Linked DNA regions of Homo sapiens: all the other regions are linked to region 4. Evidence: promoter capture Hi-C in 16 types of primary human blood cells and fetal thymus (Javierre and others, 2016). All regions are on one chromosome and are shown on one strand. The core of a region is centred on a gene start or on the middle of the fragment in contact, and the rest is flanking DNA. Distances in the headings are between cores, read along the strand shown. Region 1 has its middle 33 kb from the start of POMGNT2. Region 2 has its middle 82 kb from the start of POMGNT2. Region 3 overlaps POMGNT2 (protein O-linked mannose N-acetylglucosaminyltransferase 2 (beta 1,4-)). Region 4 holds the start of SNRK-AS1 (SNRK antisense RNA 1).

Region 1 (4,042 bases), core at 34-2,533, 210 kb before region 4:
GTCTACTCACGATATCCTCACATGGCAGAAGGGCAGAGACAGAAAGAAGGCTCTCTCATAACTCTTCTAAGGGCAATACGACAGCTCCACCCTTATGACTTCATCTAATCCTAATTACCTCCTAAAGGCCCTACCTCCTAACACCATCACTTGGGCGTCAAAGGGTTTCAACACATAAATTTGAGGGTGACAAACATTCAGTTCATAACAGTGTCACACATGTCTCTGAGGCTCTGTTCATTTTTCCTTGTTCCTTTTTCTGTTCCTCAGACTGAATAATTTCAATGGACCTATCTCTGAGTTTGTTGCTTATTTACTTCTGACAGCTCAAATCTGCTGTTTGGAACCTCTTATAAATTTTTCAGTTTGGTGATGGTACTTTTCAAATCCAGAATTTCTATTTGGTTCGTTTTTGTAATTTCTACCTTTTTCTTTATATTTTCTCTTTATTGAAACATTAGTCTCACACTTTATTTCTATAGGCCTGGTTTCCTTTAGTTCTTAGAACATTATTTATTTATTTATTTATTGTTTATTTATTTTTGAGACAGATCTCACTCTGTCATCCAGACTGGAGTGCAGTGGTGCAATCTCATCTCACAGCAAACCCCGCCTCCCAGGCTCAAGGGATCCTTCCGCCTCAGCCTCCCAAGTAGCTATGTGCCACCATGCCAGCTAATTTTTAGCCTTTTTTTGGTAGAGAGAAGGTCTCATTATATTGCCCAGGCTTGTCTCAAACTGGTTCTTAGAACATATTTTAAATAACTGATTTAAACTATTTTCTAGTAAGTACAATGCCTGGGCTTCCTTAGGGACAGTTTCTACCAATTGCCCATTTTTCCAGTGTATTAGTCATACTTTTTGTTTCTTACAATGTTTTGTTGAAATGTGGACATTTTAGATAATACAATATGGCAACTCTGAAAATCAGATGTCCTCTCCCAGTTTTTTTTTTTTAATTGTTGCTATTTGTTATTGTTGTTGTTTGTTTGTTTATGACTTTTTTTCAACTAATTCTGCATTAGTCTAAATCTTTGTTGTCTGTGGCCACTGGTGTCCCTGCTCTGTTACTTTGTTAGGTATGGGTTGGAAAGATATTTCCTCAAATATGTGGAACTTGTAGTCTCCCAGACTTTGCCAAGGGTGATGTACCTCTTCAACACTCAGATTGGCAGTTGACAATTCTGCCTTACCCTTCACTTTTTTCATGCAGAGCCTCAAGGTCAGACAGAGGTGAGAGCTTAGGGCTTTCACAGGTCTTCCCTTAACATGTACACAGCCCTGGCCATATGCACAGCTTTAGAGCACAGCCTGTAGATTTCCGGGAATAGGTCAGAGCTTTTCAAATCCTCTATGTGGACATCTCTTTCCTCAATTTTCCTTTTATGTTTTTGGTTAACCTATTGTTTGCCCTACTGTTATCCATTAGGCAGCTGCATAGTTTAATAGTTGATTCCCATCTTTTCCATAAATGCCCCTAAAGAAAAGGGGGTTCCACTGAATGACTTCTGAATCAGGTGAAATAAAGAGAGCTTTGCAAGTGATGTCTTCCAGGGAACAAAAATAAAAGCCAAATAATGACAATTCTCTGATACTAAACTTTGAAGGAGCTCTAACCCTGTTCTGTTCTGTTCTGTCCCCTTCAGTGGATGCCTAGCTGCTAGTGTTTTTTTACCATGATTGTAGGATGCTAGTTTTTAAGACTACTGCACATTAGGTATGGGAGGAGTCCCCCGCTTACCCACGGTTTCACTTTCCATGGTCAACCATGGTCTGAAAATAGGTGAGTACAATACAATAAGATATTTTGAGAGAAAGAAGAGATAAAGACAGAGAGCACATTCACATAATATTTGTCACAGTATATTGTTATGTGTTCTATTTTATGATTAGTTATCGATAATCTCTTACTATGCCTAATTCATAAATTAAACTTTATCATAGGCACATATATATAGGAAAAAAACATTGTATATATAGGATTGGAGACTATCTGTGCTTCAGGCATTCACTGGGGATCTTGGAACATGTCCTGGGAAGATAAGGGGGAACTAATGTGGAGCAAATTACATATCACCAAATTCACTGTTCTTACCAAGATTCAGCCGTTTTTCTTAAATTAATGCTTTCTGAATTGCCACAAGCCTTTTGTTAATTTCCAGAGTTCAGACAAAGTTTATTCTAATATTTTTTGCCAGTTTCTCTCTCTCTTTTTTTTTTTTTTTTTGAGACAGAGTCTCCAGACTGAAGTGCAGTGGTGTGATCTCAACTCACTGCAAAGTCTGCCTCCTAGGTTCAAGTGATTCTCCTGCCTCAGGCTCCCAAGTAGCTGGGACTACAGGCACATGCTACCACACCCAACAATTTTTTTGTATTTTTAGTAGAGATGGGGTTTCACTGTGTTAGCAAGTATGGTCTCGATCTCCTGACCTGTGATCCACCCGCCATGGCCTCCCAAAGTGCTGGGATTACAGACATAAGCCACTGTGCCTGGCCTTCTCATGGTTTTTATAGATGAGAGACTTTTAGATGTCCTTATTCCACCATTTTCATTGATGTCACTCCTGCAACATGTGGAAGTTAACAGTAACAAAATAGTCATTTATGTGAAAACCCTAACCAAAATGAAGTCAGAGAGGGCCATGAAGAAGAAGCTGTCAGACGTGATTTCCTGAAATGCCTGCCCTGCTTGCTCTATCTTGTAAACAGAGCAAGCAGAGCTCATCACAGGAATTTCCTCTGGCCTACAGTATTTCAGATAGTACCCTTGGACCAGGACAGTTGAACAGCAATGGCTTTCTTCCCTGATGGACTAACAGCAACTCCTGCAATGAGTGCCTGTAACCAATGAGCTTTCTTTCAAAGCAGTTTGCATGGTCTTCTCTTTGTCTTTAAAAACTTCCCTTTGTCCTGAATTTCCTTGTGTGGGCCTATGATTTTCATAGCACATATATCCCCAGTTGCAACGCTTTGCAATTTGCAATTAAAATCTTTTGTTCTAGAGATGCTGTCTGTCTCTCTAAGGCTCTTTTTCAGGTTGACAAATTATTTTTTCTAACTAAACTTGTTTGCATCTTATTATAGACTTAGGCCTGGCCTGTAGAAGAAAATTTGCTTGATTTTAAAAACATAAAAAAAGAGACCACTTTGAATTTTATAGCTGTTCTCATTGGAGGCTTACTGAATTATTGGTAACTGATATCCATAATTAATGGGCCACCTTATACTAAGGAATCAGAAGTTATATGCACCTATTCTGCAAAAGAGAGTCAAGAGATCTGTGGGAAAGCCAAGTCTTTAAAGTATCAAGTCACATAAGCTGAGAACTTTTCCATATAGAAGGCCAGCATCCATTTTATCAATTATAAACCACTGTAAAAAGTCATATCATCTTCCTAAAAATACTTCTTTTATATTAATTTTAAAACGTGGGCTGCGTGCAGTGGCTCATGCCTGTAATCCCAGCACTTTGGAAGGCCGAGGCAGGCAGAAGACCTGAGGCCAGGCCAGGGCGGATCACCTGAGACCAGCCTGGACAATATGGCAAAACCCTGTTTCTGCTAAAAATACAAAAATTGGCTGGGTGTGATGGCGCACACCTGTAATCCCAGCTACTCAGGAGGCTGAGGCAGGAGAAGCACTTGAACCTGGGAGGCGGAGGTTAAAGTGAGCCGAGATCATGCCACTGCACTCCAGCCTGGGCAACAGAGGGAGACTGTTTAAAAAAAAAAAAAAAAAAAAAAAAAAAGCTGAGTAAGGTGGCTCACCCGGCAGGCAGATCACTTGAGGTTAGGAGTTCAAGACCACCTGGTCGACATGATGAAACCCCATCTCTACTAAACATACAAAAATTAGCCAGGTGCAGTGGCATGTGCCTATAATCCCAGCTACTTGGTGGGCTGAGGCAGGAGAATTGCTTGAACCCAGGAGGTGAGGTTGCAATGAGCCGAGATCATGCCTCTGTACTCCAACCTGGACAACAGAGCAAGATTCTCTCTCAAAAAAAAAAAAAAAAAGTGATCAGGGATTTCCAGGAATATGA
Region 2 (3,648 bases), core at 1,043-3,542, 160 kb before region 4:
TAATTATTTGCTGCTTTATTAATAGTATAATCATCACAGGGATTTTCTTAGCTCCTCCAGAGATGAGCTCTTCACCCTCATTGCTACTTGCATGTCTGAGATGGCCTAGGACATACTGATTGATTCATTCATTCATTGAGTTTATCAAATATTTACCAAGTGCTAACTATGTGCTATGCCCTGGGGTCATAATGATGTTATATCTGAGAGATGTTCAATGGTCTTTTTATCCATTTCTTTGGCATTCTAGTGTGGCTTCCTGATTGCCTACACTTAGTGGTACTGATGCAGACTAACAGCTATCATCAATTGGGCACCTACCATAAACCAAGTAATTTATATACACATTATCCAATTAGTTCCTTACACAACCCTAAGTGCTATGTGTTGCTACCTTCACTTTCAGCCAAGAAAACTGAGGCATAGAGAGGTTAAGTAACTCGTTCACATTCCTACAGTGAGATAGCCTCAGCATCAGGATTTGAACAGACATCTGTTTGAGTCCTAACCTCTCCACCATGCTCTGGGAAGCCAAGGGAAGGTGGGAACCCCCTCCCTGTTCTGGAGGGCCATCTTCCTGGTCACAGCAAGACACTCCCTTAGTTTTATCCGTGAGAAGCTGAAAACCCTTCAGCAGCTTCTATTCCCACTACTACACAAATCGTCCTGTGACCAGGGGTGTAAGCAGCCAAGTTTTTTCATGGGGCTGTGTACAAGAATTCCCTTTTCTCTACATCCTTACCAACACTTTTATTTTATCTTTTTGATAACAGCCATCCTAACAGGTATGAGGTGATGCCTCATTGTGGTTTTAATTTGCATTTCTCTGATGATTAATAATGTTAAGCATTTTTTCCATATACTTGTTGGCCATTTATATGATTTTAAGAAAGGAGAAAGGAAGAAAGGAAGGAAGGAAAGAAAGGAAAGAAAGGAAAAGAAAGGATAGATTATTGATTTTGAAATGTTAATTTTGTATCCTGCAACTTTACTGAATTTATTAGTTCTAATAGTTTTTTGTGAAGTCTTCAGGGTTTTTTAATAGATGGTATCACCTGCAAACACAGACAATTTTGCTTCTTCCTTTCAATTTGGATGCCTTTTATTTCTTTTTCTTTCCTATTGCTCTGGCTAGGACTTCCAGTAAGTACTTTACTAAATAGAAGTGGTGAGAGTGGACATCCTTATCTTGTTTCCAATCTTAGAGGAAAAGCTTTCAACTTTTTCCATTGAGTATAATATTAGCTGTGGACTTGTCACATAGGGCATTTGCTATGTTGAGGTACATTTTTTCTATCTATAATTTTTGAGAGTTTTAATCATGAAAAGATGTTAAATTTTGTCAAATGCTTTTTCTGCATTTATTGAGATGCAGAAAATCTCATTATTTTAATTCTTCATTCTGTCAATGCGGTATGTCATTTATTAATTTGCGTATGTTGACCCATCCTTACATTCCAGAGATAAATACCACTTGATTGTGGTGTATGATCCTTTAACATGCTGTTGAATTTGGTTTGCTAGTATTTTGTTGAGGATTTTTGTTTCTATGTTCAGCAGAGATATTGGCCTGTAATTTTCTTTTCCTGTAGTATCCTTGTCTGGCTTGGTATTAGAGTACCAAACCAAATCACTCAGGCACAGAGAAACAGCATGGAATTCTGGCAAAAGAACCACCATGCTTGCCTCTACCCAGCTGGCAGAGGCCTCTACTCACTCTTGAAAATGCACTTGCCTTTGTCATATACAGAAAGCCCATATATAACCATCCCTTCCCATTAGTTCTCTTCAGTCCATCAGCTAACACACAATGAGATGAAGTTCTAAGGTACCCAGCATAGTCCCAGGGTTTGTGGGAGACACAGAGGTCCACTATGGGAGCTCATAGCCTGCAAGGTAAACTAACTTATTTGTCTATTCTCTTTGTCCTTTGCACATTGGACTACGTCAATGACATCTGTTACATAATTTTCAAAATGTAACCAGTGTTGAAAACCTGCCTGCCCTTTAAACCAGCAAATCCAATTCCAGGAATTTAGCTTAAGGAAATTGTAAAAAATATGAACCAATTTATCTAAAAGAAGGTTTAGGTATTTTTTTTAATAGTAGAAAAGGATTGGAAGCAAACCAGATAACCAACAATAAGAGACAGGTTATTAAAAGATGGGTATACCACACAATGGAATGACATTTGTCCATTAAGGCAATTTTAAAAGTATATGTATTAGAAGGAGAGTCTTGATGTTTTAGGTGAAAGGAGCAGTTATAAAATATGCTATAAGCATACTGTATAATCCATCTGTGTGTCTGTGTGTGCCCACATGTGCGTGCACATCTCTTTGCATATTGATATCTACACATGACATAGTGGTTTGTTTTTCATTGTCTTTGTAAGAGCTGTGCCAGGTTCCCCTTGTTCACCACTGGAAGAGTGAATCACCACTTCCAAGGATGCTAAAGGAGTCTTTTGTCTTTTAGAAGTTATGTTGATGAAGGTTTGAAAGTGAGGATAGCTTATCCCCATAAGATGTTTCCATCCAAGTGGAGACAGCACCCCTGATATGGCACTTCTGGACTCTCTCCACCCTCTTCAGTCCCCCTGCCCTGGAGGGAGAGGTTATTCTGATTGTGAGTTTGGGAGGAGAAGCTGGACAGCACAGCCCAGAACTTCTTGGGTCTACTCACCCATGTTGTACATCTCATAGGGACCGGATCCTTGGTCCAACTCTGCCATGTTTGGGTGGGTGAGATGCCTAATTCAGGGGTTCAGCACTTGGAAAGACATGAAGCCAACGATGAGCCTTTCTCCAACATCTGCTTTATCTGTATAAGTGGCATTCTGGCTTTCATCTGCCTTATTACTCCTTTGTTTTATTTCTTAACGGGTTCAGAATTGGTTCAATTATTTCTTAATTGGTTCAAGTGAGAAAGTGAGAAAGGGGATGTCATTCACTGGGCCCCCTTCAAACACCTTAACATTCAGGGTCTTCTCTTGGAGGTAACACTATACTGCAAGAAAGGGAGTGGAATCAACTCATTTTGTTTCAAGGTTTGAAAGCTAAGCTGACTGATCCCTGGGGGCTTATCCATGGTGAGGGGAAGGAAACTGAGAACTGGACATCCAAAGGATTCTGACTGTGCACTGCAAGAGCAGGTGGAGTTGTGTGGGGTTGGTCGTGCATGGGACTATGAATAGTGACCTTGAGATCCTAGCTTTGGGTGCCCTTGACCATCATGCACTGGAGGAATTTGGGCAACTTGAGCAGGAGGTACAAGGAGTGAGGTCATCAAGGAATACTCCTCAGCCATATCTATCTGACCACAAATGTTCATCTTTCATCTGTGATGTGAGGTGGTCACTAAAGGCAAGAGAAGCTTGCTGTAGTCAAATATTAAGGGTCAGAGCTCTTCCCACTTAAGAATGGAAATTGTACCATTTTTGTACAAACTCAGGGTCAGTTTCTGGGCCACCCAGGGATCTGGGGTTGCCCCAAGAAGAAGAGGTCATTCTTCCTTTTAATCTAGGACCCACTCCTTGAAACTTTTCTCTGTCTACATGCACGTCCTTAATAATCTTGTGGCTTTAAATATCAATATTTTGGTTTCAAAACTCAGATTTGTATCTCTAGCCTCAGCCTCTTCCCAAAC
Region 3 (3,882 bases), core at 1,104-3,603, 250 kb before region 4:
CGTTCCTCTATGTACTAGCCCCAACCCTATGAAGTATCATTATTCCCTATTTTTAGATGAGGAACCGGAGGTTGAGGAGGTTGAGTGACTTGCCCAAGGTTACAACAGGTGTGAAGCTTAGGTCTTAACCTAGTGTTCTTGGACTCTAAAGACTGTGTTGAAAACCACCCTCAAGATACAGAAGATCCAGTCTTCATTAAAGTGGGGCAAGGGGCAGAGAAGAGAAAGAAACACCTCAGACATTCAGAGAACTCAATCAGGGAGGAGCGAGCCCAAATAAGGGCACGCACATCCCACCCTACTTTGCAGCCCAGTCCCCTCCTGGACCCATGACAATGACCAGAGAATGCCACTGGCTGACCAGCTGAAAGTCATCAGGCTATGGGGCAGGGAGAAGGGAAGATGAGTGAATGCTGGGTGGATGTGATCACAGTGCTCAGTGGTGAAACTCTTGAAGGAGACAAAAGGGATTCAAAGGGGACCCAACAACCTTGATCCTTATTTGTTTGCTTTCCTTTAGAAAAGCGGAGGTAATCAAACTAGGAAAAGCTGCCTCTTCCTATCACTCCTCTTACTCGTGCCCTAAGCGGAGTTTTGGCCCCTCCACTGCTCTGGGACCAGCAGCTGATTCCCGTGCTGTACCTCCCATCCCATCCTGCTACCAAGGATCCAATCGGCACCTGAAACTGATTCCCAGATTACCAACAACTATTAAATATGAACCCACTCTTACCTTGAAAAACACACTCAAAATCACCAGCCTCTAACACTTTATGTTCCAGGCAGTATACTGAACACTGTAGGTATATTTTCTCATTCAATCTTCAAACCAACATTAAGAGGCTAACACTATTTCTATTACTCCATTTTATAGATTGGGACACAGAGGCTGGGAGAAGCTAAGTAAATGTGTCCAAGTCCCTCAGCATGTACAGAATGGAGGCAGGATCTGAACATGGATTCTAAGCACTGTCTTATGTTAATAGCCCAGGCACCATTTGGACCTCACCTTCTTGGCATTCCAGGGCCACACAGACCAGGGTACTTCAACACCACCATGTTTATCTGCCTCTGCCTCCTCTATATTGGGCACCAAATTTAGAGACCAACTGGAGTGGGGAACAAAGGGCTTAGTGGCTCAGCCAGGACAAAGCATGATAAAACAAAAATTTTTTCAAAAGAAAGAGAAAAAAGAAATCAACAAGAGATTAAAAACATGCCTAGAAAATCCCTTTAGAAACTGAGGCAGACAGGAGGAAGCTACCAATTCACTCCCCCAAACCACTTTACTAAGCTCCCAAGAGCAGTTAAATGTTATCAGATCCCCAGACTTAGTGAATCCTCCTTTCTAGGATCCCAGCTGTTCCGAGCATCAGAGGATAATGTCAAAAATGCTGTTGCAACTGCAGACCCCAGTAACAGCTGGGCAGGTGGGGTGGGGCCACTTGCCTTGGGGAGCTCACCACGTGAGGGTGGTCATTGGTGCTGGGTGCAGGCTGTACTTCTGGGGGCCCTGGCCAGCCCCAGACACGGGCACAGAAAAGCCCATAAGGGCTTTAAGGTTTGATAAGGAGTAAAAGCTCCAGGAATTCTGGGCCCAGAGTAGGAGGTGCACACTCACATGCCTGCTAGGGCCGGAGCCAATGGAGAAAGTAAAGCTGAGGGTGGGCTGTGTGACCTGGAGACAGAACACCTAATGCCAGCTGATGAGAGAATGGCGGGAAAGCAGCCTGGTGGTACCTATCTGTATCAGTCTGCTTGGGCTCCCATAACAGAATACCAGACTGAGTGCCTTAAATGACAGAATTTTCTCACAGATCTGTCAGGGTTGGTTTCTGGTGAGGCTTCTCTTCCTGGCTTGTAGATGGCCTCTTCTCTGTGTGGTGGGGAGGGAGGAGAGGGGCAGGTGAGCAAGGGGGAAAGGGAGGGAGAAAGGAAGCCGGGAGAGGGAGGTGGGGAGAGAGAGAAACACTCTGATCTCTTTTCCTCTTCTTATAAGGACACCAGTCCTATCAGATTAGGGCCCCACCCTTATGACCTCATTTAAGCTTCATTATTAGGATGATCTATCTCTAAACACAATCACAGGGGGGTTAGATCTTCAACATATAAATGGGGGGAACATGATTCAGTCCATAGCAATACTCTTCTGATTTTCCCAGAGAAGCAAAAATCTATTTAAAATGTGAAATGTCCTCATTTGTAACTTCTGGCAATTATTCAAATTGAGTGAAGACAACGTGCACCAAGGCCTGGGGCTGCTGGCCTCATGGTTGCCAGTTAAAAACGGATGCTCATTTGCAAGCTCTGGTCTAAAGCAAATCCCCTGTCCTGCTGGCCTCACCATGGCCTGTGCCCGGGTTCCCAGTTTTGTGACTGCCAGAACCAGCAGCTCACCGGTCACTCCTCCACAAGAAGGGTTACAGAGGTGGAGGGACCAGACAGCCAGCACCTGCCAGACCCAGGCTGCAGAAGATCAGGCAGGGCCCAGGCCAGGAGGGGGTCAGCAACGGTGCAGAAGGTTTTATATTTTACTTTCACAGCAATTTGACTTTTAAGGATTGTTCACACTTCCAATTGAAAATTATAGAAATCTTATTTTGTCACTGAAAAGTGTTTTTGTCCTAAATGCAGCCTGAAGTACTAGTGCTAGATTGTGGAAGCTTTCAGTCCTGTATTGATTTGTTGTCTTACATGTTGTAAATTAGTAAGGAGTAAACATGTTTCACTAACTCAAGCTTATCCTCAGAATGATCTCTTTCCCCCTCCTTTTTTTTTGGTTATCTGAAGTAGTATATGGAACTGGTATTAATAACATAATGCTTACATTTGCTCCTAAATTAAATATTAACCTAATGCTATTGATAAATTCGGCATTTATAGATCAGGTTTTCTGACCAAGGTATTTATCCTTTGGCAAAATCTTGGCAGTCTGAGTGGTTCTTGTAAAACTTAACACATTTAATTATCAAGGCATATTTAACATTTAGTTAAGGGCTCACTTTCTTAGATTAAAACTTTGACATGGGTAGTATCTTCTTGCTTTAGAATAAAGAGCAAAGCAAAGTCAAAGCTGGAGACATTAATCCACCATCAATAGCTGATGACTGTGACTATATTGCCTTATCAATAGAAAAGGAACCCCTTCAAAGCAGGAAAAACTCCAACAGAATTCAAGTCTGTACTACTTTGGTGAGAAGGGTGATGTCAGTCTTTGCTGAGGATAAACCAAGGCTTGAGTGTGGGGCAGGACGTTCGGCCTTCCACCAGCTCATATGCAACCCTCTCACCGGTTTTCAGCCTCCAAATAACGCAGAAACCTTTGCTTGCCACACAGCCTGCCGTGTCATCTGGCTTTTGCTTAGCACAAATGGGTCACCTGGAAGTGACATGTGCCTGTATTGGTCCTCTCTGGCATCACTGTGTACCAGTGTGGTCATAAACGGGGATGAAACAGGGAACAGAACGGTGGGAACCTCTGTTGTGTGGCTCACAAAGGTAATGGAGAACACGCCTACACCAGGTTTTCTAGGTGGAACTACAAAATCAAATGAAAACAATTCTTACAGGGAATGCTCAGACCCCAGTGTGTACACAAATCCAGATGGACCCTCAGGCCCAATTTGAGAGGGTTGAACTGATCAAGAGAGCCAAAAACACCCAGTATAGGAAGCATAAAACATTCACAAAGAAACACGAGGAAGTGTGCACAACAAGAGATCATCCAGGGAAGCTGGCTGGAGGGTGGGTGAGTTTTGAGCAAGTTTTTGGAGGTGTTTTGGTGGTGATGGAGGATAAGATGAGCATCTCTGTTATGTGTCTACATGTCCCAATTACTCATGACTGCTACAAATCTGTCTGCAGCAAGCATCACTGTCTAGT
Region 4 (3,636 bases), core at 304-2,803:
CAGTGTAAATACTTTTTCCTGTGATTATGTATAGCCTTGGAATGGCACCTTTTAACTAACCCATATGTGTTTGGTTTCAATGGTTTTTTATATTCAGATGTATATATGGTGCTCACTTTAGGATCAGCAGTGTTGACCATTTATGCTGCATAGCTGTATTATAGCCTTATTAGTTGTGTGGTTGACCCTTGGGGTATACAAATGTCAGTCTGAGTGGTGTCTTACTCCTTTGTTTATAAGTGAATGATTGTGCATGTTTTGTATGTCATAGTATGTCGTCACATAAAAGGGAGGGAGCGAAAAACCATTACATTAAGATAATATTGGACCAAACTACTTACTTGCTCTAAACAGTTACTTGTACCCCTTAACCTGTCTTCAAAAGTTGCATATAGTTACAGTAGTGTATAAATTAAATATTGTGGAAAAACAGTCTTGTATTTTTCTGTATGTGTGTATATATATATAATTATGTACTTCTGGCAATTCTATCTGTATTTAAAGATGTGACAATCTTGACACCAATTTTAAGAATAGCTGTGAGACCGAATTAAAGATAATCCCTACCAAGTGAAAATTGATGTGTGTTAAGAGGGTACAGAATTATCAACTGATTTGGTCAGTTGCTTCCAATGCTGGTTGATTTCCCTCATTGTGTAAACATTGACAGGTATGTGACAAATGGGAAAAAAAATCCAAATAATAAAGTGACATATTGGTGTTCAGCAATATAAACCGTGTCCTGTGTTGTATTGCTTCTCATGAGTGTAGCTTTGTGTGATCCCACCTCAGTTAGACCCAGCCTTCTCCATGCCCTGTGCCTGCACCACCAGATTTGGCTGAAAAAGTACAGTCATTATTATGTTTAAACTCATGGCTACAAATCATAGGTGGGGCCAGGGTGCCCATTAAGTATACTTACTTTATTTCTCTATTTCATCTCCTTTCCTCACTCTGCTGGTCACCATGCTGCCTAATTGAATAAAGGGAAGCAATGAGAACTGCCACAAGTTCCCACCTCTGCCTTCCTCCCTTCCTTCATACACATTCACATGCTCTGCCCTTCCTCCTGTTACTGTGATTCCAAGGTCAGCTACTCTTACTCAGTTCTCACAACCATTACCATAATTGACTTTTACAACCCCCCCCCGCCCGCCAAAGAAATCTTGTGCCCTTTGGCATACTTTACCTTGTCCGCAACTCCCTTTACTCCAGCCTCATGCAACCACTTCCTGTGATCAATTTTCAATCCCATGTTAGAATTTGATGAATTGCTCACTTTCTTCCTTATGAACTTCCCATCTTTCAGTATCTCACTTCTGCCTTGCTGCTCTTCATGTCCACTGGTCCTTCCTCATTCTTCCAACCTCTAAATTTGGAATGTCCCAATGTTCAATTCTGGACCCCTGCTCTATCTGCAGTGACTCCTGATCTCAGTTAGTCTAGTATCTATATGCTGATAGAAGCCCAAAATATATTTAGCCCACATACCCTGGGAACACTGGATTTCAACTATCTATTTGACTTTTCTTCTTGGATGTGTCTGTGTGTCTACAGCATCTCAATTTTTACAAGTTCAAAACCCCTAATCTTTCCCCTCAAATCCTTTTACTAGCGCACCCATCTTAATAAATATCAACTCCTAGCCTTCAATAGTTTCATTCAAGCTGAAAATCTTGGTGTCATCCACTTTTTCATCCCAACATTCAGTTTATGAGCAAATCTTAACTTGCCTTTCACAGTTGACTCCTTCTCATTGCCACCACCACTACCACTCTAGTCCATGACACTCAACTGTAAATGCCTCTTAAAGGGTTTCCCTGCATTTGCCCTTGTCTTTCTCATTTATTTTCCACTTAGCAGTATGAGAGATCATTTTAAAGGCTAAATCATACCATGTTTTGAAACGTGTTTAGTTTCCAAATATTTGGGGTTTTCCCACATAGGTTTCTATAATTTTTAGTTTAATTCTATTTTTATCAGTGCATGCTTTCTATAGTTTAAATCTTTTGAAATTACTGAAACTTGTTTTATGGCCCAACATACGACCTATCTTGGTGAATGTTTCCTGAGTGCTTGGAAAGTGCTATTGGTGGAGTGTCCTATACATGTCAGTTCGTTCAAGTTGGTTGATAATGTTCAAGTTTTCTATATTCTTACTGATTTTCTGTCTCAATTATTGAGAGAGGAGTGTTGAAATCTCCAACTATAGTTGTGGATTTGTCTATTTCTCCTTTTAGTTCTAGCAGTGTTATTTTAGAAAATTTGAAGCTCTGTTGTTTGGTACATAAGCATTTAAGATTGTTACGTCATATCAATGAATTGATCCCTTTCCTCATGAAATGTTCCTTCTTTATGACTGGTAAACTATTTGTTCTGAAATCTACTTTGTGTGATAGTGATACAGTAACTCCAGCTTTTTTTTGACTTGTGAGAATATATCTTTTTCCATTCTTTACTGTTAACCTATTGTGTCTTTATGTTTAAAGTTTGTTTTTTGCAGATATCATATAGTTCGAGCTTGCTTTCTTATCCCATCAGCAAATGTCTGTCTTTGATTGAGGGTTTAGATGTATTACATTTAGTGTAATTGTCAATATGGTTGAGTTTAAACCTACCTAGTTTTCTATTTGTCTCGTCTGTTCTTTTTCCCTCTTTTGCTACCTTGTTTTGGTTTAACTGAGCACCTTTTGTTACTCCATTTTATCTCCGCTATTGGCTTATTGGCTGTAACTCTTGTTTTTCAGGGGGTGCTATAAGATTTGCAATACATGTATTTTATTATATCACAGTCTATCTTAATATATCACTTCATGTAGAATATAAAAACCTTACAACTGTATGCCTCTATTTTCCTCTTCCTGTTCCTTATACTACTGTTGTCATACATTTTATTTTTGTATATGTATAAATATTGTTTTAACTAGTTTTTAAGGGATTAAACAGGGGGGGGGGGAGTATTTTAGCTACATATTTGTCATTTGCAGCACTCTTCATTTCTTTGTGTAGATCCACAGTTTGGTTTTCCTTCTGCCTGTAGAACATTCTTTAACATTTCATATAATGCAGATCTGCTGGCATTACATTCTGTCAGCTTTTGTTTTGAAAAATTACTTTTCCTTTATGAAAGATATTATCATTGGGTATAAAAATTCTTGATTCATTTTTATTGCAATGCTGGACACTGAATTTTGCATTGTTGAATGCTGGAATTTTTTGTATTCGTGTGAGAAGTATTGGATTTCATTTTGGACTGCAGTTATTTAAAATCATTGGATCCTTCATGTCTCACTTTTAAACTGTTAGGGCAGATCCTGAGCAGTCTTCAGTCTAGGGCTAATTTGGCCCACTACTGAGGCAATACCTCTCTAGGGACTCTATTGAGGCTTTTCTACTCTGGCTGGTAGGAACATGAACTATTACCAGCCTTGGGTAAGTTCTGAGCATTGTTCAGCCTGCTGCTTTCCAGTGGTTCTTTCTCCAGCCTCAGGTAGTTTTCTCATAAGTACTGATCAGTACTCAACCAAAGACCACAGATTTTCTTTTGGAGCTTGCTCACTATCTGTGCAGCTCCCTCCTCTCTGCCCTGCACATTGATCTTGAACTTCAAACTACCTGCTCAACTCAACCAGACTA

Evidence for each region. The method cuts DNA at HindIII sites, captures the fragments that hold promoters and counts their contacts. A CHiCAGO score of 5 or more calls a contact.
Region 1: a contact is called between a fragment that was not itself captured here and the fragment with the promoter of SNRK-AS1 in region 4, in 1 of 17 cell types (non-activated CD4 T cells). The highest score is 5.0, in non-activated CD4 T cells.
Region 2: a fragment that was not itself captured here is called in contact with the fragment with the promoter of SNRK-AS1 in region 4 in 5 of 17 cell types (naive CD8 T cells, non-activated CD4 T cells, total CD4 T cells and 2 more); the score reaches 9.6 in naive CD8 T cells.
Region 3: a fragment that was not itself captured here is called in contact with the fragment with the promoter of SNRK-AS1 in region 4 in 2 of 17 cell types (naive CD8 T cells and non-activated CD4 T cells); the score reaches 5.7 in naive CD8 T cells.

What each region holds. Positions count from the first base shown.
Region 1 is chr3:43,136,957-43,140,998 of GRCh38, forward strand. No RefSeq gene overlaps it. Among named protein-coding and RNA genes, the nearest start is that of POMGNT2, 33 kb to the left of the region's middle. The HindIII fragment of the contact is 6,011 bases long and covers 1-4,042 here.
Region 2 is chr3:43,186,368-43,190,015 of GRCh38, forward strand. No RefSeq gene overlaps it. Among named protein-coding and RNA genes, the nearest start is that of POMGNT2, 82 kb to the left of the region's middle. The HindIII fragment of the contact is 2,162 bases long and covers 1,212-3,373 here.
Region 3 is chr3:43,095,588-43,099,469 of GRCh38, forward strand. All of the region lies in intron 1 of POMGNT2 (protein O-linked mannose N-acetylglucosaminyltransferase 2 (beta 1,4-)), which reads right to left. Among named protein-coding and RNA genes, the nearest start is that of POMGNT2, 8.6 kb to the right of the region's middle. RefSeq lists enhancers at 1,889-2,389, 2,390-2,890. The HindIII fragment of the contact is 615 bases long and covers 2,047-2,661 here.
Region 4 is chr3:43,350,409-43,354,044 of GRCh38, forward strand. SNRK-AS1 (SNRK antisense RNA 1) reads right to left here and starts at 1,554. Exons shown (of 3, transcript NR_046757.1): 1 at 1,190-1,554; 2 at 923-973. SNRK (SNF related kinase) reads left to right here. Exons shown (of 7, transcript NM_017719.5): 7 at 1-735. The HindIII fragment of the contact is 8,620 bases long and covers 1-3,636 here.